5 separate regions of the Homo sapiens genome follow, and all the other regions are linked to region 1. Evidence: promoter capture Hi-C in 16 types of primary human blood cells and fetal thymus (Javierre and others, 2016). All regions are on one chromosome and are shown on one strand. Each heading gives the region's core, a stretch centred on a gene start or on the middle of the fragment in contact. The rest is flanking DNA. Distances are from core to core; before and after follow the strand shown. Region 1 holds the start of SRD5A3 (steroid 5 alpha-reductase 3). Region 2 overlaps KIT (KIT proto-oncogene, receptor tyrosine kinase). Region 3 overlaps EXOC1 (exocyst complex component 1). Region 4 overlaps EXOC1 (exocyst complex component 1). Region 5 overlaps KIT (KIT proto-oncogene, receptor tyrosine kinase).

Region 1 (4,717 bases), core at 432-2,931:
CTTGCCCCAGGTCAGACAACTGTAAGAGAAACTCCTACCCAGGAAACTGAGTCCCTGCAATGCACTTACAAGTAGCTTCTCTGAAAAGAAAAAGATCATGGACAGACCAGCTGCATTTACAGAGAGTTAACCTAAGAAAAATAAAGAAACAGTGAAGGGGTGCCAGGAGCATTGGCTCATGCTTGTAATCCCAGCACTTTGGGAGGCCGAGGCAGATGGATCACGAGGTCAGGAGATCAAGACCATCCTGGCTAACACAGTGAAACCCCATCTCCACTAAAAATACAAAAAAAAAAAAAAAAAAAAAGCCAGGCGTGGTTGGGGGGGCACCTGTAGTCCCAGCTATTCGGGAGGCTGAGGTAGGAGAATGGTGTGAACCTGGGAGGCAGAGCTTGCAGTGAGCAGAGATCAGGCCACTGCACTCCAGCCTGGGCGACAAAGCGAGACTCCATCTCAAAAAAAAAAAAAAGAAAAGAAAGAAACAGTGAAAGGGTGACTCCCGCAAAAGAGATCCAGGATCACTCAATAAGGCCTCATTGTCCTAGCTAGAATGCCAATTTAACCATCCTTAATCACCTGGCTGTCAAAGGACGGGTAAAGCCTTAGGTGTCTTTTGCACAAAGAAGAAAACTTTAAAAGCTTGCTCATTTAACAGTCCAAAGTCCCACTAACCTACCCACCCTGATGTTTATTCAACACACATATCGGGTATCTCATTGGGGTAAGGGTGATGAGTTGGCTACCTCTCCCCTCTTCCACTTCTCACCCACCACCCAATCTCAAAAATGTAAGCTCCAAATAAGCAGTGACAATTATCTTGTAAACCCCTCTGTCCTCAGTATCCAAAATGATGCCTGTCATACAGTAGGCATACAATACTTCAGAATTAACATTTTAAAGACTTTTAAATACTTAAAAGAGCTAGATTTTCACTTATAGTAAATAAAATCAGTGTTGTTTAAAATCAGTGAGTCAATAAATAGCATTGTCACTACCTGAGATAAATGTTACAGGAAACAGCTGATGGAATTTAAAAACTTTGCTTCTAAGGATTGGAACCCTATTGGTAAGCGACTGCTGTTTTTTAAACACAGTTTTTACCACTATGATTTTTATTATTATGTGCAATTACTTGTCTACATGTTTACATTATACACATATCCAACACATTTCCAGCATCCTAACATAATTATTCATTTTTGGGTGTGATCTGCCTTCTTTATCCATATATACACACATTCATATTAATATAGTTGTTTGCAATCATAGCTATGTATTTTTATGGTTGGTTTTGTTTTTCACTTCACATATTGTTTCCTAAACAGCTTTCCCTGTTTCTACACTCGTCATAATAATTCTCAATGACTGCATGATATTCTAACATGTCAGTGTATCATAATTTAGCTAAATAAACTAAAATGCAACATGTAAGGTTTCCATTTTTTGCTTTGGAGATAATGTTGATAAGAGTGGCAGACACGTGGTCTCGTCTGTTTTGCGTCTTTGCTTCTGATGAATCATATTCTGGAGCTCCATCTAAGAATCCCCATGCCCAGATTAGGGACTGCGAGCGACCACCCAGCGCCAGCGCGACCAGGACCAAGGACCTCCGCGGCTGAGCGGCGAGTCCGGGAGGGGCTCTGCGCGTCCCCGCCCCGCGCCGCGTCACCGACGTCCCGCTAGGCTGAGACCGGTGCGCCGCGCGCTAGTGGCCGCTCTTCCGCGGGCTAGCGGGCGGTGGGGGCGCCAGCAGCGCGGAAGGCGGGCACGCGGGCCATGGCTCCCTGGGCGGAGGCCGAGCACTCGGCGCTGAACCCGCTGCGCGCGGTGTGGCTCACGCTGACCGCCGCCTTCCTGCTGACCCTACTGCTGCAGCTCCTGCCGCCCGGCCTGCTCCCGGGCTGCGCGATCTTCCAGGACCTGATCCGCTATGGGAAAACCAAGTGTGGGGAGCCGTCGCGCCCCGCCGCCTGCCGAGCCTTTGATGTCCCCAAGAGGTAACCGCGCCCCGGTCCCGAGCCGCGGTGGTCAAGGCGCTGAGAGTTCGGGGCGCCCCGGCTCGCGGGCAGCCAGCAGGGGGCAGCAGAGGCGGGACCCGGCCTGGGAGGCCCTGGCGGGTTCCCGGGCGCAGCACGGCGCTCCCTCGGCCTGGCCCCGGCCATGCCCCGGCTGCTGCGTGGCTCCGGGGAGCAGTGCCCGGGTGTCCGCGGACGCCGAGGGAGAGCGGAGCCGCTTGCACTCAGCTGGAGGAATGTGAACTGGTAGCCGCACGGAGCCTTTCCCTGTGGGAAATGGCAACGCATCCGAATTTAGGCCTGGTCATGCGAATTTAGGCGGCAAATTGAAGTGCCCCTTGCCCCAAATTCTCCTTTTTCCCGTACCCTGCACTCCAGTGGCTCATACTCTAACTTGAGGTCACCGGGAATCATTTGTGGAAATGAAGTTAGGCCGGCTCTTCGGCCTCGGCTTCCCCCGTTTCTCTTCCCAACCCTTGCAGTGGGGACAAAGGACTGAGTCGCCCTAACCTGCACCTTGGCAGGTGCCCCTGGGGAAGGTGGCCCAAGGTGCAGGTCATAGGCAGGCCCGTCCCGAAGCTCCATTTGACTTTCGAAAAATTCTGTAACCCAGTTCAGCGAAGGATTAAATCGTCAGGTTTTAAATAGAGACCTGTTATAATTTTCTTCTTCTCCTTTTTCCACTTTAAATTCAGGACATAGCTGGAAAGAGTTGGCCAAATACTATTCGAGATGGTAGAAATAGAACAGTGCCCCTTAAGATGCATCTTAGGCCGGGCGCAGTGGCTCACGCCTGTAATCCCAGCACTTTAGGAGGCTGAGGCAGGCGGATCGCTTGAGTTCAGGAGTTCGAGACCAGGCTGGGAAATATAGTGAGACTCCGTCTCTCCTGAAAATACAAAAAATTGGCAGGGCTTGGTGGCGTGTGCCTGTAGTGCCAGCTACTTGGAATGAAGGCAGGAAGATCATCTGAGATCAGGCATTGGAGACTGCAGTGGGCTATAATCATGGCACTGCACTCTAGCCTGGGCAACAGAGAAATACCTTGTATTTAAAAAAAATTTTTTTTTAAAGGTTAAAAACATCTGGGTTGTCGCTTGAAACACTCATAGGCAGTGCCCCAGGTCCGCAGGCAACAAAGGGACAAGTATAATTTGGCTTCTAAAACTTGGATAATCTGCGAATTTTGACTGTCAGAGAAAGATGTGTCATGTGTTAACACAGAGAAGGGAGAACTAGGTCATTCTGAGGCACCCTAAAGGGAAGAAGTAGAAGTACATGAAACAAATTGATCAAACCTCCTGTTTCCTAGAGGCTCTTTTTAAGCAAAAATTACCTGTTATCCCATTTGTAATCAGGGTTGAATCCTTTTATACTTCACAGCAATTTATTTTCTGAGTTTTGAGAAAGGTACTAGTCTAGTGTACCTGGATTAAATGGCACATGTAAAATCATCCCCTGAACTTGCATACACCCCAGCTGTTGCAACTCAAGTCTGTTATTACATGACAGCCAAGAAAGAGACTTGGTACCTTTTCCTTATTCATTACTGTAACAGTTGGTTCTGTTTGGACTTCCTGTAATTTCTACTCTATTGTGAAATAATTTACACCTTTTTCTTCTTCCAGAATTCTACAGTAGAACCTCCCATAGTGTTCAAGTGCCCTTCCCCTCCTTCTCTAAATTTAAACAGACATTTCTTTTAGTACTGGAGAAGGTACAAAACATCCAGACCAATAATGAAAGGCATTTTTATTGTGACAAAAAAAAGATAACTTGCATCAAAACTGGCAGTGTCTCCAAAAAATTAATACATGTATTACTCTCTTTTTAAATTTTATACCCCTGTTTATATGAAATAGGCAGATAATTAGAGTTGGGTGGAGGTAAGAGTCTATGGCCTCTTTTTTATACGTCTCTGTATTTTCCAAAATGTCTTCATTCACAAGATGCTTATCACTTTTATCATTTAAAAAAATGTGCTAATGGCTAAGGAGCATGTGGGAGAGATTTTACTGGTTTATAAATAGTAACCACCATTGACTAAATGTTTACATATATGATTATGTGATGACTACTAAGGAGTACGTGCCTTTCCTCATTTAATCCTCACAGTGGACCTGTGAGGGAGATGTTATTGTCATTATTCCCATTTACACACATGCAGACTCAAGCTTAGAAGATAGCAGTTGTGCAGTGATGCTAGTACTAGCAAGGGTGGTACCTGAACCCTGCCTGTTGGAATTTAAATCCCAAGCTCTTATCCTCTGGTATACTTCGTGGGAAATATCTTGTACCATGTGAAGCTCAATCTGTGTGAAAGATTAAGTGAGAATGGATTTATCCCAGATGGTAGCATTTAGTAAATATCTTGGTTAATCCAAATTTAAAATCATTTGGTAACGTTAACCTTGATACTTATATGTGAATATTTTTCCTGTGCAAAATCTAGTAGTACTCTTTTGTTTTGTTTTTTTGAGATGGAGTCTCGCTCTGTCGCCCAGGCTGGAACGTAGTGGCTCAGTCTTAGCTCACTGCAACCTCTGCCTCCTGGGTTCAAGCAATTCTCCTCCCTCAGTCTCCTGAGTAGCTGGGACTAGAGGTGCACACCACCATGCCTGGCTAATTTTTGTATTTTTTAGTGGAGACGGGGTTTCAACATTTTGGCTAGGCTGGTCTTGAACTCGTGACCTCAAGTGATC
Region 2 (5,004 bases), core at 1,680-4,179, 660 kb before region 1:
TACCAACTCCAGAGAGGGGAGAAAGGAGATTTGCCTCTGCTTGTTATCCGGAGCTGTAGGTGAACTGTTCTGCTGCTGGTAATTGAAGTCTATCTGCAGAACAGTTATCAAGGGCAGTAACCTTTTTTCTAGCAATGGCCTCAGATAAAACTTGTTTTTCTTATTAATAATTTGTTTTTACTTCCTTTGGTATAAACCATCCCTATGGCTATAAAGTGACATTTTTGAAAGTGGAAATAGAAGGAAAAATGTCCTGTCTGTTCAGTGTGGGATGGAGGGGAAGGTGCAATTTTCCCTATTTGACAGGCCCATTAAAGCAGGATTTCAGAGTATGTTCACTAGCAAAATGTACTGATTTACCCATTATAATGAAAATTAGCTTAAGTATCTGAGTCAAGTATAATTTATAGCATTTTTAAGAGCTAGAAAATCAGGCCTTTATAAAATGTAGATCATAATTGAAGACAGGTTTTAAAAATGCCTTAGGGAAATAATATTAATAAAATGTCAAGACGAATGGATAAACAAAAATATAGCATATACACAGTGGACTATTATTCAGCCTTAAAAGGGAAGTCAACTTTTACAAATGATACAACATAGATGAACCTTGCAGACCTTATATTGAGTTAAACAAGCAAGAGACAAAAGGACAAATAGTGTGTGATTCCACTTATATGAGGTACCTAGAATAATGAAATTCATCCAGACAGAAAGTAGAATCATGTTGATCAGGGGTTGGAGGGAGCAGAGAATGGTGAGTCATTATGCAATATTTCTGTTTGGGATGATGAAAAAGTTCTGGAAATGGATAATGGTGATGGCCGTACAACAATGTGAATGTACTTAATGCCACTGAACTGTATACTTGCAAGGTTAAAATGGTAAATCTTATGTCATGTATATTTTACCATAGTAAAACATTTCTTAAATGCCCCAGTTGCCAGATATATGTGTATATATACACATGCACACAGATAGGCATATGTGTATGTATAAATGTTAATCAGCCTCTCACTTATCTGTGTTTCATTTGATATCATTCAAATTAGATGCCATAAGTTAGAACTAGAGTTTAGGGTTGTCACACTTTTTTATGTCTTGAAGTTTTCATTCGTCCTTTTTTTTTTTTTTTTTTTTAATGAGAAGGAGTTTTGCTCTTGTTGCCCAGGCTAGAATGCAGTGGCATGATCTCTGCTCACTGCAACCTCCGCCTCCCCAGTTCAAGCGATTCTCCTGCCTCAGCCTGCCGAGTAGCTGGGACTACAGGCGCCCGCCACCACGCCCGGCTAATTTTTTATATTTTAGGTAGAGATGAGGTTTCACGGTGTTGGGCAGGCTGGTCTCGAACTCTTGACCTCAGGTGATCCACATGCCCCGGCCTCCCAAAGTGCTGGGATTACAGGTATGAGCCACCGTGCCGGCCTTATTTGTCTTCCTCAAAACTCCATTTCCCCTCCTGAGCCTGCAGGGAATTGACATTTTGCAGAAGCTTGAGTTTCCTGATAGGAGGAAATTTGGTGATTAGTGAATATTGGAGCGCCTAGCTCACACTCGCCCACACCCACACCTGTCCAGGACAGTGCTAACATGAAGGCAGTTTGCACTTGTCAGGTCCTCCTGCAGGATCTTGTTGCAAGAATCTGGTGATGCCCATCTGTTTGTGGAGTGTGCAGCCAGGAGGATCTGCTCGGAGGTGAGACTGCACCAGGGCTCCCTTTTGTATGTCCTAGGTCTTGGGGGGGTGAAGTCTTTGACTAGTGTGGCTGACCTTTGCCATGCTCTTTTGACCTGTTTCTTTTTACTTTGTTCTGAATTGTTCTTTAAGTGAAGGAAGAAAATGTTCAAAGAAGGGACGAGCTCGCTACCCCGACCCCAAACTTCACAGATGGTGAGGGCCTTGTTCTGGTGTTTATTGGATTCCAATCCTTAGTGCTTTTCTGGTTCATGTTTCAATATGTGCTTTCCAGAAATCAAAACACAGAAATCTACATATTTACGGCAGCGGGGATGGGGTGGGGGGTGCGGGGAAACGGGGGACTGTGCTGGGCTGTTGGGAAGAACCCACTGGAAATGAGAAAGTTCCTCCTTTCTGCTCAGGGATGGATCCCAGTATATTTTGCTTGTCACATCCAGACCTTATCCAACTCCCCAAAGACTGACTTCATAATGGCAGAGAAAGGTTTCCTCTTAGTCTGTCTCTGAGATCAAAAGGGGAGGTCTTTCCTCAAGCATTAGGTTGTATTTTTGTTAGGATGAGTGAGTGAGAAGAGAATATATTAAGTAGTCCTATGAAGGTCTTTGCTGCTGGTAAGGTGTGTGTATCTAGGAGAAGTCTGACCACATAATTAGCTGAGAAAGGTCCGTCTTTGAGTGTCGAATGATACTTGCATCTTCATAGTTAATTATAAGATGTCAGAGCCGTAAGTCAAATTTCATGTTTAGGTCCTTATTCTAATTCTGTGTCCAAAGAGTAGTATAAAAACAAAGTAGGCCTGGCATGGTGGCTCACACCTGTAATCCTAGCACTTTGAGAGGCCAAGTCGGGTGGATCACCTGAGGCCAGGAGTTCGAGATCAGCCTGGCCAACGTGGCGAAAACCTGACTCTACTAAAAATACAAAAATTAGCTGGGCATGGTGGCGGAGGTTGCAGTGAGCCGAGATCGTGCCACTTCATTCCAGCCTGGGAAAGCGAGACTCCATCTCAAAAACAAACAAAAACAAAGTAGATGTTTAGTTATATATTTATATTATAAGAGAATCACTGCTATTCATTCTTGCCACAAACATTTGAGTGCTTTCTATGTACAAGAACTGAATTTTCTTTTTTTTTTTTTTTTTGAGACTGGATCTCTCTTTGTCTCCCAGGCTGGAGTGTAGTGGCACGATCACAGCTCACTGCAGCCTCAACTTCCTGGGCTCAAGCGATCCTCCCACCTTAGCCTCCCAAGGAGCTGGGAGTACAGGCACATGCCACCATGCCTGACTAATTTTTGTATTTTTTGCAGAGATGATGTTTAGCCACATTGCACAAGCTGGTCTTGAGCTCCTGGGTAAGCAATCCTCCCGCCTTGACCTCCCAAATTTCTGGGATTAAAGGCATGGGCCACCGTGCCTGGCCCAAGCACTGAATTTTTATTAATGTAAGAGATTTCTTTGTCTTTTTTTTCTTTTTTTTTTGAGGTGGAGTCTTGCTCTATTTCCCAGGCTAGAGTGAAGTGGCACAGTCTTGGCTCACTGTAACCTCCACCTCCCAGGTTCAAGTGATCCTCCTCCCTCAGCCTCCTAAGCTGAGATTACAGGCACATGTCACCATATCCGGCTAATTTTTTTGGTATTTTTAGTAGAGACAGGGTTTCAGCATATTGGCCAAGACTGGTCTTGAACTCCTAACCTCAAGTGATCCATCTGCCTCGGCCTCCCAAAGTGCTGGGATTACAGATGTGAGCCACTGCGCCCGGCCGATATTTCTTTGTCTTGACCGTTTTTTTTTTTTTTTTTAGAAGACAGAGTCTCGCCCCGTCACCCGAGCTGGAGTGCAGTGACGCAATCTCGGCTCACTGCAACCTCTGCCTCCCTGGTTCAAACGATTCTTGTGCCTCAGCCTCCTGAGTAGCTGGGATTACAGGCATGCTACACCACACCTGGCTAAATTTTGTATTTTTAGTAGAGACGGGGTTTCACCATATTGACCATGCTGGTCTCAAACTCCTGGTCTCAAGTGATCCTCCCGCCTCAGCTTCCCACAGTGCTGGGATTACAGGTGTGAGCTACTGTGCCCGGCCTGTCTTAACCTTCCGATGGGGCCTATGTGTTTAATTCCAAACATACAATGTAGGATGATTAAATCAGGATAATTGGGGTTATCCCATCACCTCAGCATTTATTTCTTCTAAGCATTTAATTACAGATCTTAGAATTGTTAGTGGCTTTAGACTCTTTACTTTGTCAAATGAGAAAAACAAGGCCTAGAGAACCTAAGTAACTTGCCTAATGATTTAGAATCCAGAACTGCTATGTCTCTACCAGTATATATTTTCCCCTTCACATCCTTCACTAATTGCTTAAGAGCAAAAGTATGCAGTTATGGCCGGGCGCGGTGGCTCACACCTGTAATTCCAGCACTTAGGAAGGCAGAGGCAGGAGAATAGCGTGAGCCCAGGAGTTCGAGATCTGCCTGGGCAACATAGTGAGACCTCGTTCTCCACCAAAAGGTGGGGGGGTGGGGAAGACAAAACCCCCAAAACCCAAGTGTAACTACCTGCAAAAGTATGCATTTATACATTTCATCTAATATATACAAATATTAAATATTTAACAGACACCAAACATTTAATAATTTTGCTTGTCTTCTCCAGCCTGAGAAAAGCTTTGACAGATGTCCTGTCTCTAAAACACACTCACTGGAAGCTTGAGTCGTTGCTGCTGGGTCCTCTTAGTAAGTTTCCTTAGAAGCACACAGAACATTTAACATGTTCTCTATCTTGGGAGTGCTGTTCAAAAAGCAGAAGCAGCCCAAGGGCATCTTCTTTTGCCACCAGGTGGCACGCTTGTGAATTGGGAACTGGTGGAAGGAATGAGTCAAGGTGAGGGTTGCACTAAAATGAATCTCCCAGCTGGGCAATGTTGAGGAATCTGAGTGGGGAAATGCTTCATTGCAGAGAATGAAGTCTGTCTGATTTGCCCAGAGATCACAAAAATAAAAGACAGAAAAGCAGAACATGAAAATGCTACAGGAAAGGTGGGATCGGCACAAATGATACCTTGGCACTATGTCCGTGTGGTTTAAGGCAGAAAACTGAAGGGCTGACTTGGCCCTGAGGAGGAAACTACTCAGTAGCAGAGGCAGGAAGGGCCCAAACCACAGGTGAATCCACCCAGGTTGAACGCCCACACAGAGGTGTGTGGGTGGGGTGGGGTGGGGTGGGGTGGTGCAGCCTGACTGCCTCCGCTGCAAAGGATGTGCCTTTGTGTGCAGTGTGACATCCCTCTCTAGCCTTGGC
Region 3 (4,474 bases), core at 410-2,909, 520 kb after region 1:
TAGAGATTGGAAAGAAAATTATAATGGGATGTTTAAAAATAATTTAGGCCAGGCGTGGTGGCTCACGCCTGTAATCCTAACACTTTGGGAGGCCGAGGCTGGTGGATTGCCTGAGCTCAGGAGTTCAAGACCAGCCTGGGTAACACAGTGAAACCCTGTCTCTACTAAAATACAAAAAATTAGCTGGGCGTGGCGGCACACGCCTGTAGTCCCAGCTTCTTGGGAGGCTGAGGCAAGAGAATTGCTTGAACCTGAGAGGCAGAGGTTGCAGTGAGCCGAGATTGCGCCACTGCACTCCAGCCTGGGCAACAGAGTGAGACTCTGTCTCCACAAAAAAAAACAAAAAAAAACTTCTGTAAGTAATTTTTATTACCATGGGGAGGGATCAAGAGTGGAAACTTTTCTGGTTGTTTTCTGTTAAGACAAAACACTTTAAGGGTTTTTAAAACTGCACCTTTATTAAAAAACATTTTTCCCTTCAGTAGTTTTGCACTTCGTAACCCTGTTGACTTGCATAATTCAGTAACATTGCTGAATGCTTATTTGAATGCATTCTCACAGCTGATGCCTCTTGCAGACTTGCTTAATGGATTTTTTTTTTTTGCATTTTATGTAGGCACCTTGGTGTGTGTATGCTATATATGGATATAAAACATAAAATTTTTATACATAACTTAACATTAGCCATTTAGTATCACACATTGATTTGTGAGTGTTGCCACTGGAGCACTCAGCTTCTTTTATGGTATTATGGGAAATATTCCCAGGGAAGAGATTATTTCCCATCAAGTTTCATATTGGTTGCCAATACTCTTGTTGTGTTTTTTTGTAAGTAATAATGCAATTACCTTTTCATTGTATATGCAGGTTTTAAATTTTTGACGCTTCAATTCTGTTTATTAAGCTATAAATTGAACTAATTAGTAGTTCCATGCTGCTGTAATATGATTGTTGTACCAAAGGTCAAGTCCTGATTCCTGAGATACTCCAGTTCTTCACAGTGAAAGTCTGATATAACTTCCCTTACTTTAATGTATTTACATTTCCCCCAAATAACACTTTAAATGAATCAAATATATTATTATTCTTTTACCCTGTAGAACATTAAGAATATTTGAGCCTATTTTTTAATTCCTTGGATGTGAAGTATACATCCATAAGTTTGTTTGTTTGTTTGTCTGCTTGTTTGTTTTGAGACAGGGTCTCACTCTGTCACCCAGGCTGGAGTGCGGTGGCACAATCTTGGCTCACTGCAGCCTCCACCTTCCGGGCTCAAGCCATCCTCCCACCTTAGCCTCCCGAGTAGCTGGGACTACACGTACATGCCACTACACCCGGCTAATTTTTGTGTTTTTTGTAGAGAAGTGTTTTGCCATGTTGCCCAGGCCAGTCTCAAATTCCTGGGTTCAAGCAATCTACCCACCTCGGCCTCCCAAAGTGCTAGGATTACAGGCGTGAGCTACCAAGCCCAGCCTGTTTTTTTATATAATAGTCAAGTAGTTCTATTCATTCAAGGGAGAAATATTAGCCTGATGTGGATTATTGCTATAATGTGGCTTAAGAGACTTGAAGAAACTATAGTGTAATTCTCTCAGATTGGTTGAGCTTCTTTATCACATGAAAGAACGTTAGGCCAGGAACAGGGCTCATGCCTGTAATTCCAGCACTTTGGGAGGCCGAAGCAGGAGGATCAACTGGATAACATGGGGAGATCTTGTCTCTACAAGAACATTTTAAAAATTAGGCATGCTGGTATGTGTCCGTGTCCCCAGCTACTCAGGAGGCTGAGGTTGGGAGGATTGCCTGAGCCCAGGAGGTGGAGGCTGCAGTGAACCATGATTGCACCACTGCATTGTAGCCTTGGCAACAAAGTGAGACCCTGTCTCAAAAAAATAAAGAACTTTGAGACCTAGCAGCACTTTTAGCTTTCAAGATATCTTTAATCATTCCTTATTTTCAAAATAGAAAATAATTAGGCGCAATCTCTGCTTTTCACCTCACTTGTTCTTAGAAAGTACACCAGGATATACATTGCATTTTTCTCAAGTTTTATACTTAGAAGATATAGTCCTTATTAGGGAGTTAGTGTCCAATTACAGTTTCAAATAGTAGTACATTATTAAAGAAAATGTATAACTAAAACTCTATAGGCAATTTAAAAAGAAAAATTAGGTCCATGTCAAAGCTAGAGACCATTGTCATCTTACTGATGAGGAAGCTAAGCCACAAAGCCATTAATGCATCCTATACTTCTACTCATAGACCTAAAGGGCATAGGAAGAAAATGACCACAACAGTATGTTGTTTTTTCATCCAGCTCCTTTGGGGTGGTAAACTTTTTGCTATAAATTGAATTCTCCAAACTCTTCCTTTCCAGTTGCTTAGCTGATTTTTAATACTCTTCATTTTCCAAAAACAGCGTAAATGCCTATGCAGATTTTACATTAACAATGTAAAAGGATGTGATCAAAAATAATATCTTTTGTATATTTTTATTTTAGGAAAATCCTGAATTTGATTTACACTTTGAAAAAATATATAAATGGGTTGCCAGCAGCACTGCTGAAAAGAATGCATTTATTTCATGCATTTGGAAATTGAATCAGCGATATCTCCGGAAGAAAATTGATTTTGTCAATGTTAGCTCACAGCTTTTGGAAGGTAAAGTTAAATAAAAATGTATATGTAAAATCAATTATATCTTTAAGTGAATATATAATTTGACATCATTCAAATTAATTAGAATACTGAATTATCTTATCGTAAAAGAACTTTAAAATAATTTTTCTTATTGCAGAAATTATGCTTGTTTATTGTAGAATATTAATACATTATGATAAATAAATAAAAACCACTTATTCTTCAGCAATAACTACTGTTAGCACTTTGTTAGATATTCGTCTAGTCTTTTTCCTATGCATAAACACCTTTTTAAGATAAAGAAATTTACATTATGTTTTCTAACATACTTTTTCATATAATGTATCATGAACATTTTTCATGTTGTTGAATACTTACCCCAACATTATTTTCAGTAGCACCATAGTATTCCATTATATGGATATACCATGTTTATTTAACTAATCATTTATTTTTTAATTTTCCAATCTTTGCTTCTTTTAAACAGCTCTGGGATAAATACCCTTGTAGCAGTATTTTTGTACAGAGGGTAGATGTAGTGGTTAAGAACATAGCTCTGAAGTCAGACTTCTTGGGTTCAAATCCTGGCTTTGCCACTAACTAGCTATATGACTTTGCATTGATACTTACTCTCTATGTTTCAGTTTCCCTTATCTCAGAACTAGAGATAATAATAGTATCTACCTCATAGGGTTGTTATGAGGATTAAATTACTTAATATATGAACATAGTAAGAACAGTGCCAGGTACATAGTAAGTGCTCAGTAAATATTAGCTATTATTATGTTACCAGTATAAAATCCTTAGACATGAAGATTATTAGAATATTTTTGATCAGTATATCTTCAGGAATGTTACTATGCATCATTTTGTGTTACAAGACAAAAACTCTACCATTAATTAGTGAAAATATGAGATTTTCTCTACTTTTAAAATTTCTTTCCTAAAGATACAAACATTGTAAGATAGCACTTAGTAATCAGTGAGCCTGCTGCTGATTTTAGGCTTGATGCTTGGCACTGGCAGAAACAAGTCACATATGTCAGCCACCAGTAGTGCTGGTCTTATGTAGGAATCCCCAGGGTTGCCATCTCACCAACACTAGTCCCCAACATCTTGGTAATTGAGTGTGTAGAGGGAATGACCTTCAAGAAATTTATGGTAACTTTTCATGCCTTGAATCGTGGTTTAATTTGCTTCGAATGGCTTTTATTTTTTTTAACATTTCAGGGTTGAACATTCTGATGAGTCAGTGATTCAGTGATTCACAAGCTTGCTGTTCTGTCTTCAAATATTATGCATTTCCAGATGTTATTTATTGTGTAAGGTGATTTTAAACCAGTATATTTCAGGACAGTCATATAGAAAAATACATACCCTACCTGGATCTGCCTCATTAAGAAATACTACCAAAATCAGTGAGAAGAGTATTACTGTTTTTGAAAATGAAGTGTCTAACTTAAAAAAAAAAAGGCATTCAATTTTTCAGGCCATAAAACAAGAGTATAGACACGTTCATGTGTATAAACATTAACCCTAACTGAGATCGATTTTAAGAATACTGAGAAGATCCTTAAGGATCTCATTTTGAAAATCACTTGCTATATACGTCAGTAACTCTTGCTTTGGTTTAGTGGAGTTCAGGGAATAGCTTCATTAATGTCTACAAACTTGTTTTATGGACCTTGAAATTACAGCCTTTAATTCCCATTAAAAAAAAATGTCTCTAAGTTTTGAGTGATGTTAGAAAACAAATAAAAAATTATTACCACCCCAGTTTAAGAGCTCAATAATTAAGTAAGACTATTTTGATTATAAATGGTAGCAGTGGCAA
Region 4 (4,510 bases), core at 1,316-3,815, 540 kb after region 1:
CACTTAGAGATACAGCATTGAAGGAAACAGGCAAATACTTGCCTTCTCAGAGTACGTATTCTAGAGGAGACAGACAGACAAAAAAGTTAATTATATAGTATGTTAAAAGGTGCTGCTGAGTGTTCTAGAGAAAATAAAGCAGGGAATGCCAGGACTGGGAGAAGGGCGTGGGATAAGGATTTCCAGAGGAGAGCTTTCCAGGCACAGTGCAAGTGCCCTAAGGCAGAGCGTTCCTATTGTGCTTGCAGAGCAGGGAGGCCAGTGTGGTAGGAGCACTGTGAGCCAGGGGCAGACCCTGGTGGGGGCAGGGTGGATCTGGAAGGGATTGTGGACCATGCAAAGATTTGTCTTTTACTGTGCATGACATTGCAGGGTAGGGAGGGGAGATGGTAGACTTTGAGCCATGGAATGACATGGCCTGACTTAGATTTAATAGCCATTGTAGCAGGAAGCCATAGGGACAGTCCTTTTCTGGCATTTATGCTGTTGATCTTTAGTTTAGGAATTGGACATCATATCCCTTTTTAAAAAAATAGAGCTAACGAATTCCCACCTATCTAGTCAAATACGTAAATAGCTAATAGTATTCTAGATAGTCCTGGCTGAAGATCCATTTTATTAAAATTCTGAAATACTCTGAGAAACATCTAAAATCTTTTATCTGTAAGTTTTTGTGAATATGAAGTTTAAAAATAAGAAATCTAATGCATAAGCTGTGTTAATAATTAATAATAATTATATGGACAATATGGCCCTAAAAGATGTTCTAGAATTGGAAATAATGATATGTTTTGTCTCTGTGGAATGAGAATATTGGAATTGCTAATATAAAAGCAACTTCTATCTGGTATCTTAGAGTCATGCTTCAGAAGAAAGCAGAAGGGTTAGGTAGAGATTTATGAAAAGTGTGATAGTAAGAAGGAGGCAAATTATGTATTCCTATCCATGCATTTGTGTTTACGTATTTGACAGTAGGACATTTTTATGTATCAGTTTTCATGTATTTTCTCTTTGAAGTGCCTTTGCCCATTTAAAGTAAAATCTGGCTCTTGGACTTCTAAACTGAGATAATAAGAAAAGGGATATAAACCTTAGTAAAATAAATAATATTTTTAAATTATAATTTTAAAAATGCTTTTCAAAAAAAAAAATCTCCTGAGGTGCTTATATACTTCTTGTCTGGCTAGCTATTTTAGGTGAGATTATTTTAGTTCCTCAGAATTAGTATATTAAGCATTATACACCTCCACTGTTGTGTTATATTTTCTTTTGTCTTGTTTTCATTCAACAGAATTCAGATTTGGAGATATCTTAAGGAAAAAATTTACATTACTGGAATTCTTTGCCTTTTGAAGTTTTAGGAGGATTAATATTCTGAATAATTAAACATAAATTATATTTCCTTAAGAGTTTTGTGCCAACAAGTGCTTTGTCCCCTAGTGAATATTCAAATAAGTAATCAATAAGCTTTTTGCCTAATTGTGTTCCCAGTGAGTATTATTGCCCTATCTTTATATATAATGCAGTATTCATGAATGTAATTTAAAGTGAAGAAACAAGATTAGAGCCAACCTAGTAATGATTTATGGAATCATTCTCTGCTCAGAGTATATTTTTGATTGACAATATTAATGAGCTTTTTAAATGAAATTGACTTTTTCCCAGGAATGTTGCGTCATCCTGTGATTTGAGCTTTTCACAGATTATGTATTTTTACCTCATCATCTAATTTGGTTGCTGAAGAGTTGTCAAAAACAGGAATTTTAAGGAAGAAGAAAGGAATGAAGAAAAAAGAAGGAAACAGACCAATCAGTGTTTCTTTAGTAAGAAATCATAATTCAGAAAGCTATTTGCACTTGGTTAGGTTTACACAGCTCACACTTTTTGGCAGGAACAGGAAAAACTTGTTCAAAATTCTTTGGGAATAAGAATCACTAGCCACTGCCTCTAGCTGTACTGAGGCTGAATCTAAGCAAAGCCCCATTTTTTGGTATACAGAAAATAGTTGTAGCTTGGACTGCCCAGATTCCCTCCTCCCGGGACTGCTACCTTCGTCTGCAACTCTGGGTCATACATGTAGGGTAGTTAGTAGAGATGGTCCATCCATGCTTGGGTAGGAAAGGAGTTTTCCTCTCCTAATAGCCTCCTGAGATTGGCAGTCTGACTTGAAGATGACTCACATGTCTTCTCTCCACCTCAGTTTTACATTTGTAGAATTTGTCTTATTGTTGTGAACCCCAAATGTCTGAGACAAGATCTCAGTCAATTTAGGAAGTTTATTTTGCCAAAGTTAAGGATGCGCACCCATGATACAGCCTCAGGAGGTCCTGACGACATGTGCCCAAGGTGGTCCGAGCACACCTTGGTTTTATACATTTTAGGGAGACATGGGACGTCAATCAGTATATGTAAGGTGAACACTGGTTTGGTCTGGAAAGGCCAAACAACTTGAAGCAAAGGTGGGACAACAAAGTGGGGAGGGGGCTTCCAGATCATAGGTAGACAAGCAACAAATGGTTGCATTCCTTTGAGTTTCTGATTAGCCTTTCCAAAGGAGCCAATCAGATACGCATTTATCTCAGTGAGCAGAAGAATGACTTTGAATAGAAAGGGAGGCAGATTTGCCCAAGCAGTTCCCAGCTTGACTTTTCCCTATAACTTAGTGATTTTGGGGCCCCAAGATTTATTTTCCTTTCACATTGTATAAAGAAAAAGTAAACCATGGAGACCCTACAGCGGACCCAGGTTCCACTGCTTGCTACTCGAAAGCCAAACACTAGAGGCAAGGGTTGCTGTGAGGAAAGGCAGATTTAATCAGCCAGAGAAGCTGAGGTGAGTGGAAGGAAAAAAAAATCAGAGAGCCAGTAGAGAAGATGGTGAACTAGCATTCTAAAGTACCATCTTAAAATTTAAAACTTACCATAGGGTTTTTGTTGTTGTTGTTGTTGTATTGTGTTTTGTTTTGTTTTTGTTTTCGTTTTTGTTTTTTTAGGCAGGGTCTCACTCTGACACCCAGGCTGGAATGCAGTGATGTGATCACAGCTCACTGCAGCCTCAACTTCCTGGGCTCAAGCAGTCCTTCTGCCTCAGCCTCCTGAGTAGCTGGGACTACAGGCATGTGCCACCGCTCCCGGCTAATTTTGCATTTTCTGTAGATACAGGGTTTCACCATGTTGCCCAGGCTGGCATCATAGAGTTTTGGAGAGACACTGATACAGTAAAACCTTCCTGTGGTCTTTCCTATCAGTCAGTTCTGTTGAGTGCCAGGAAAAAAGGTATCTAAGTCATTTGAGTCCCACTGAAAAAGTAATACATCCCAATGAAATAGGAATTTTAATTTATATTTGCTTTTAAAGTTATACAAAGATCATGGGAAATAATTGCCCATTTGACTAACTGTTCTTACATTAGATACAGAGATATGTGAAAAATGTATATGGCATACAAATTGAAAAAGGACAGGATCTATATATATTATGTTTGGTCCAAATGCTATTTTATAAGAATACAGCTATAAAATATTTTAAGACAATCAATGGTAAACTGTGAATCAATATACAAATATTTACACAACATGTACCTTTTGGAAGGTATACCTGATCTTTAAAGCAGGTAAACATGTTCTAAAAATTGACACATTAATTTGAAATAATATAGGAAATTGAAGCTTAGATTTTATGATAAACTTAAAAGAATAGGTACAACTTTTCTGCTTTATTTAAATTTTATTTTCTGGTTTATTTAAATTTAGTCAAATTCTGTTTGTGGCATTTAACTTCATACTTGGAAAAATATACAGTCTCCCACTGTTGAGGAACTCTTCTGGAGAGTATATTTTTATGTGATAATAAGTAGAGATGATGAAGAAATGATTTTTGTATGCCAAAGGATACAAAAATGTTTTTATTTAAGCGAGAATTAATCAAATCTGTTTTAAGAAAATTAATTACTTGATTTTGAAAACTGTAAGATATACTAATGAAGTTCTTATGGAAAATAACCTATTTTGGAGTAATATCCCAAGCTGGCAGAGGCTCAGTGAAACTAAATATTCTTAAGTGCCATTGACACTATTTATTATTGGTCTGTTTTTAAAGCAACATGACAATATAGAGGAAGAGCAATTAAGATTCCCATACACTTTGACCCTGTTATTCCATCCTTAAGAAATTATTTCAAAGAAATAGTTCATTAGAGATGAAAAGCTTATTGTAACATTGTCTATCATAGCAAAACATGGAAACCACTTCATTGTCCTGTGTTAGGGGATTGGTTTACTTAATGGTGCTACACCAACAAAACTGAATACTGTGCTGTCATTAAAATGTGAGACTGGAGAAATGTATTTGTTCTGATTTAGATATTCTGTATAGTGTGATTACAGTGATATTTAAAATATGCAAAAGGTAATATAGAAAAATGAAAATATAAATATGGTTATGTTTGACTTCATATTTTTGTAAATTGTTAATGTTATGATGCCTATTCAATTGTTTTTTAAGACAGAAAG
Region 5 (4,581 bases), core at 1,614-4,113, 680 kb before region 1:
AAGGATAAGCCCTAAATCATCAGTGGTGAAGCCTGATGAGATTGGCTGCATGTGCCCAGCTCTATAGCCATTCACATGATTCACCAGAATCTGTTGTAAGACTCATTCAAAAATATTTAATGAGTTTTTACTATGTGCCAGGGATTGTTGGAAGTTCTGGGAATACAGGATGGCCAATGTCACTACCTTCCCAATTTTGGTGAAAAATATTTAGAATTGCGTGTCTTATGAAAGCGGATTATTTGTGGAGGGAGGATTAATTAAATTTTAGCTTGGAGGAAGGGCTGTAGGCATTTGACCCTGTGGTATGTTGGCTTAGTTGTTAGCTATCTCATTCCAGTTAGCGTCCCTCAGAAATGAAGGTAAGCTGTTTCTAAAAGGATGATGCAAGCCAGTTAAAAATCCATCTCCCACTCCAAAACATAAAAATGGTCTTGTGCATAGGTGTGAAAGAGAACACCCCCAATAATGGCTGATGTCATTGGCTATTTACCCTGGATAGCATGGTGAGAAATAATGACAATCTACCATCCAAAGCCATTTTTTCTCCCAAAAGAAATTCTCATCAGAAATGTGCCAAGTATTCTGCGGGCTTCCCTTGGAGAACATTTATGTACAGATGTTGTGGTGGTGATGAATTTTGCTGCTGTTGTTGACAGCCCTTCGAAGTTACCCTTAGGGTTTTGACTCATTTCCTCAAGTCTCTTCCAGCTGATTAAAGAAGGACACGAGGAAATGAACCTCGGTGTCTCTAGCGGAATTCTCAGAGCTGGCCTGCAGTGTGGGGACCCCTTCAAGGTAGTGGTCAAGGCTGTGGCAGCTTTTTCTTCAGAATGAATGTAGTTTAAGAGTTGGCAGGCTAGGATGTGGGAAATGCTTTCTTTTGCTGCATTAATGTGCGGTAACTTTTAAAAGTTGAGATTGAATGACATTTGCAGGAATCCAAATATGCAAATTTCATGTGCAGTTTTGGTAACTTGAATAGATATTGCCACAGCTATAAGTCCGGATTGAAGAAGGCCTGGGGAAGAGTTAGAGGAGGTAAAAGTTTGCCTGGAGGGCAAATCCAGTGTAAATCTTTGTTGTACTTAGAGAGGAATTGAGTTGAGTCATAGAGAGGAATTGAGTTGAGTCGGCTTGGCCCAGCAGCTCTGATTTCTGACATTTTTTGGATGTGATCATACAGCTCATCTTTTGACCTAAGACTCTTAATAAGTAAAGAGCAGTTGTAATCTGATAGCCCGAGGAGACATGTTTTCTTTGGCCTACATGATGCTTTTTAGAAAACATTGAGGCGATATTAAACAATCTAGAGATTTTTTTTAAATCAAGATCTCTATTTCTGTCTCCTCTTTAAGAATTGAAGGTCATGGCCCCTGTAGATGAGGCCTGTGCTCTTCAGGTTGCATTAGGCTCTAGGGCTTTATCCTGCCATCCCTTAGGCATTCCCCACTGGGCCCTGGTGAGTGCAGGAATCCAAATATGCCCCTGGGACCAGGCAGATGACAAGTGGGAGGAGACAGGCCGGCCTACCTTGTGTTGGTCTGATGGCTTCATGACTGACAGCTTGATGGCCTTAGAGCAAATTGTTTAACCTTTTTGAGCTTTCATTGTCCATCCTAGTTTTGCCACTTATTAGCTCTGTGACTTTCGGCAGATTACTTAACCTCTCTGTGCCAGTAAATGTGTTGCTACATGTAAAACTTTTAGAGTGGTGCCTCATAGTACAGGCTCAATATGTGTTAGCCATAATTATCGTCTGTAAAACAGGAATTATTATTGTCCCTAAAATGGGAATAATGCCTACTCTTTTAAGATGATTGCCCTAAAGATTAGAAAGGCATTTTTTTTGTTTGTTTTAAAGACAGTATCTTGCCCTGTTGCCCAGGCTGGAGTGCAATGGCGCAATCTCGTCTCACTGCAACCTCCACCTCCTGGGTTCAAGCGATTCTCCTGCCTCAGCCTCCTGAGTAGCTGGGATTACAGGCACCCGCCACCATGCTCGGCTAATTTTTGTACTTTTAGTAGAGATGGGGTTTCACCATGTTGGCCTGGCTGGTCTCGAACCCCTGACCTCAGGTGATCTACCTGCCTCGGCCTCCCAAAGTGCTAGGATTACAGGCATGAGCCACCATGCCTGGCCGACAGTTTTAAAAATAAGCTTTAATTTTTTTGGTCTTGTTTTATTTAGCTTTTGATAAGAGTTAGGAAATCACTAGTCCTAGAGATTGAATAGATCTTGAACTTTTTTTTTCTCCAGGGGGGAAAAAAAAAAACTACACATCTTGTAAGATTCTCCAACATAACATTTGTGTCTGGTACTTTTCCCATTCATCTTATGTTTTAGCTTTCATGCTTACATTTTGGTTATGACACACTTTTGTTAGACATCTTCCCATGCATACCTTTCTGACAGGTTTTCAACATTTTTGCAAAATTTAAGGTTTAAGCCAAATTATTATTCAGGACATGTGGCATCAGTTAATTACGAGCTTGGGCTCTGAAATTGACACGCTGGATTTTTATTCCAGTTCTGCCTCTTCCCTGCTGTGTGCTCTGGGACAAGACACTTAACCTCTCCTTAAGCTTCATTTCCTCATCTGTAAAATGGAGATGATGACATAGGGCCCCTGCGAGGATTAAATGAGATTCTGCATGTAATATGCTTAGCATAGTGCCCCGCATAGAGGAAGTGTGTGGACTCCACTATCAGGCTGATTTTCTTATGTTCCCCTTTCAGCTTTGCCTCTTAGAAAAAAATTGAAAACGTGTAAACAGAATATGTAGAGTGGTTTTTTTTTTTCGTATTAAGATGAAGTTGTTAATTAGTGGTAATGCATGTTTATCTGCTTGGCTCTTTGTTTAGCCGTATTCTTGGGTTACTTTCCACCAAAAGAGATACAAATTTCTTGATAAAAGTTTAGGTTGGGGGAATGTCTGCAAATGGCCATTTTCTGTAGGTGAATAAGTACATGTAGTTCACCTAGGGTCCATGAAAGCAGTCAAGGAGCTTTTCCATGACTGCTTTCACTAGGAGTTCAAGGACCAAGCTGAACTTGTCCATTGCCCCAGGCTAGACACAGCGGTTAGTGTTCAGTAAGTATTAGTTTAACATCTTTTCTATTCTCCAGCACTTACACTAAGCTTTGAACATAAATGGTCAGTAAACATTTTGGATTCAGTTTAACAAAGGCTTATCAATCCCCATGCCTTGGTCCTACGTTACAGGCTGGGGGTGGAGGAGGGCCAGGGCAAGAGCACAGCCCCTGATTCGAAGTAGAATTTGGTTTTCTTAAGTGTAAAGTGCTCTGGGCAGGATTTTCAAGGAGATGAGCTTAAATCTTGATGGGCAGGTAATAGAGATCAGGAATCAGTAAGAGCATCCACATAGGAGATAATATTTGAGATTAATTTCTGAACCTTAAAGGAAGAGGGCAGTGTAGTTGTGGCTTCAGCTGAAAAAAACTACAGTACAAGGAACAAGGCATTAGGATCTTACTTCAGGATTATCAAACCTTTCTATTGGTATGATGGCTGGGGGTAGGGAATTGGCTGGGAAGGTAAGACTCCTCTTACTAGCCTCAAGGAGCATGGAGGGAATGTGTATTTAGTGCTGAGTTTGGTCTAGGTTATGAAGAATGCTTTGAAGTCAAGGCTAAGGTGGACTTGACCCAGGAGTGGCCCCCCAGGCTTTGCATACTAGTCCAGGGCTGCCTGTTCCACCATTCTGTCCAATTAGACATACTCCCCAGCCTGTTCCAATAGTCTGACGAAGCGAGAGGCCAAGCCCTGCCTTAAAACTTGGACACTCCCTTGCTGTGGGCAACCAAGACTAAGGGAGAGTCTGTTTTTATTATTTATTTATTTATTTATTTATTTATTTATTTATTTATTTATGAGACAGGGTCTTGCTCTGTTGCCAGGCTGGAGTGCAGTGGCACGATCATAGTTCACCGCAGCCTCCACCTCCTGAACTCAAGTGATCCTCTCATCTCAGCCTCCTGAGTAGCTGGGACCCCAGGCGTGTGCCACCACACCGGCTAATTTTTTTATTTCTATTTTTGTAGAGAATAGTCTCGAACTTATGAGCTCAAGCGATCCCCCAGCCTCAGCCTCCCAAAATGCTGGGGTTACAGATGTAAGCCACCACACCTGGCCTGTTTTTTTTTTTTTTAATAGTAAAACATACATAAAATGAAATTTACTACCTTAATCATCTTTAAATGTATATTTCAATAGTGTTAAGTACATTCATACTGTTGAACACTTTCATCTTGCAAAACTGAAATTCTATACCCATTGAAGAGCAGCTCCCCTCTCCTTCCCCCAGCTTCTGGCAACCACCATTCTACTTTCTGTCTCTGAATTTGACTATTCCAGGTAACTCGCAAATGCAGAACCATACTGAATTTGTCTGTTTTTTGACTGGTTTATTTCACATACCGTAACATCCTCAAGGTTCACCCCTATTGTAGTATAAGTCAGAATTTTCTTCCTTTTTAAGACTGAAAAATATTCCATTGTATGTATAGACCACATTCTGTTTACCTGTTCCTCCTTTGATGGACATTTGGGTTGCAA

The links. Contacts are between HindIII fragments. The CHiCAGO score rates a contact against its expected background, and 5 or more counts as called.
Region 2: a contact is called between a fragment that was not itself captured here and the fragment with the promoter of SRD5A3 in region 1, in 1 of 17 cell types (M2 macrophages). The highest score is 7.3, in M2 macrophages.
Region 3: a contact is called between a fragment that was not itself captured here and the fragment with the promoter of SRD5A3 in region 1, in 8 of 17 cell types (naive CD8 T cells, naive CD4 T cells, naive B cells and 5 more). The highest score is 9.0, in naive CD8 T cells.
Region 4: a contact is called between a fragment that was not itself captured here and the fragment with the promoter of SRD5A3 in region 1, in 3 of 17 cell types (total CD8 T cells, naive CD4 T cells and activated CD4 T cells). The highest score is 6.9, in total CD8 T cells.
Region 5: a contact is called between a fragment that was not itself captured here and the fragment with the promoter of SRD5A3 in region 1, in 1 of 17 cell types (M2 macrophages). The highest score is 6.4, in M2 macrophages.

Annotation. Positions count from the first base shown.
Region 1 is chr4:55,344,561-55,349,277 of GRCh38, forward strand. SRD5A3 (steroid 5 alpha-reductase 3) reads left to right here and starts at 1,682. Exons shown (of 5, transcript NM_024592.5): 1 at 1,682-1,997. The coding sequence starts at 1,777. RefSeq lists an enhancer at 1,403-2,163 and silencers at 1,615-1,784, 1,995-2,264. The HindIII fragment of the contact is 3,550 bases long and covers 638-4,187 here.
Region 2 is chr4:54,679,266-54,684,269 of GRCh38, forward strand. All of the region lies in intron 1 of KIT (KIT proto-oncogene, receptor tyrosine kinase), which reads left to right. Among named protein-coding and RNA genes, the nearest start is that of KIT, 24 kb to the left of the region's middle. The HindIII fragment of the contact is 2,878 bases long and covers 1,491-4,368 here.
Region 3 is chr4:55,861,726-55,866,199 of GRCh38, forward strand. EXOC1 (exocyst complex component 1) reads left to right here. Exons shown (of 19, transcript NM_001024924.2): 4 at 2,502-2,661. Among named protein-coding and RNA genes, the nearest start is that of EXOC1, 10 kb to the left of the region's middle. The HindIII fragment of the contact is 4,502 bases long and covers 1-3,910 here.
Region 4 is chr4:55,879,170-55,883,679 of GRCh38, forward strand. All of the region lies in intron 9 of EXOC1 (exocyst complex component 1), which reads left to right. Among named protein-coding and RNA genes, the nearest start is that of EXOC1, 28 kb to the left of the region's middle. The HindIII fragment of the contact is 2,200 bases long and covers 1,466-3,665 here.
Region 5 is chr4:54,660,730-54,665,310 of GRCh38, forward strand. All of the region lies in intron 1 of KIT (KIT proto-oncogene, receptor tyrosine kinase), which reads left to right. Among named protein-coding and RNA genes, the nearest start is that of KIT, 5.1 kb to the left of the region's middle. The HindIII fragment of the contact is 558 bases long and covers 2,585-3,142 here.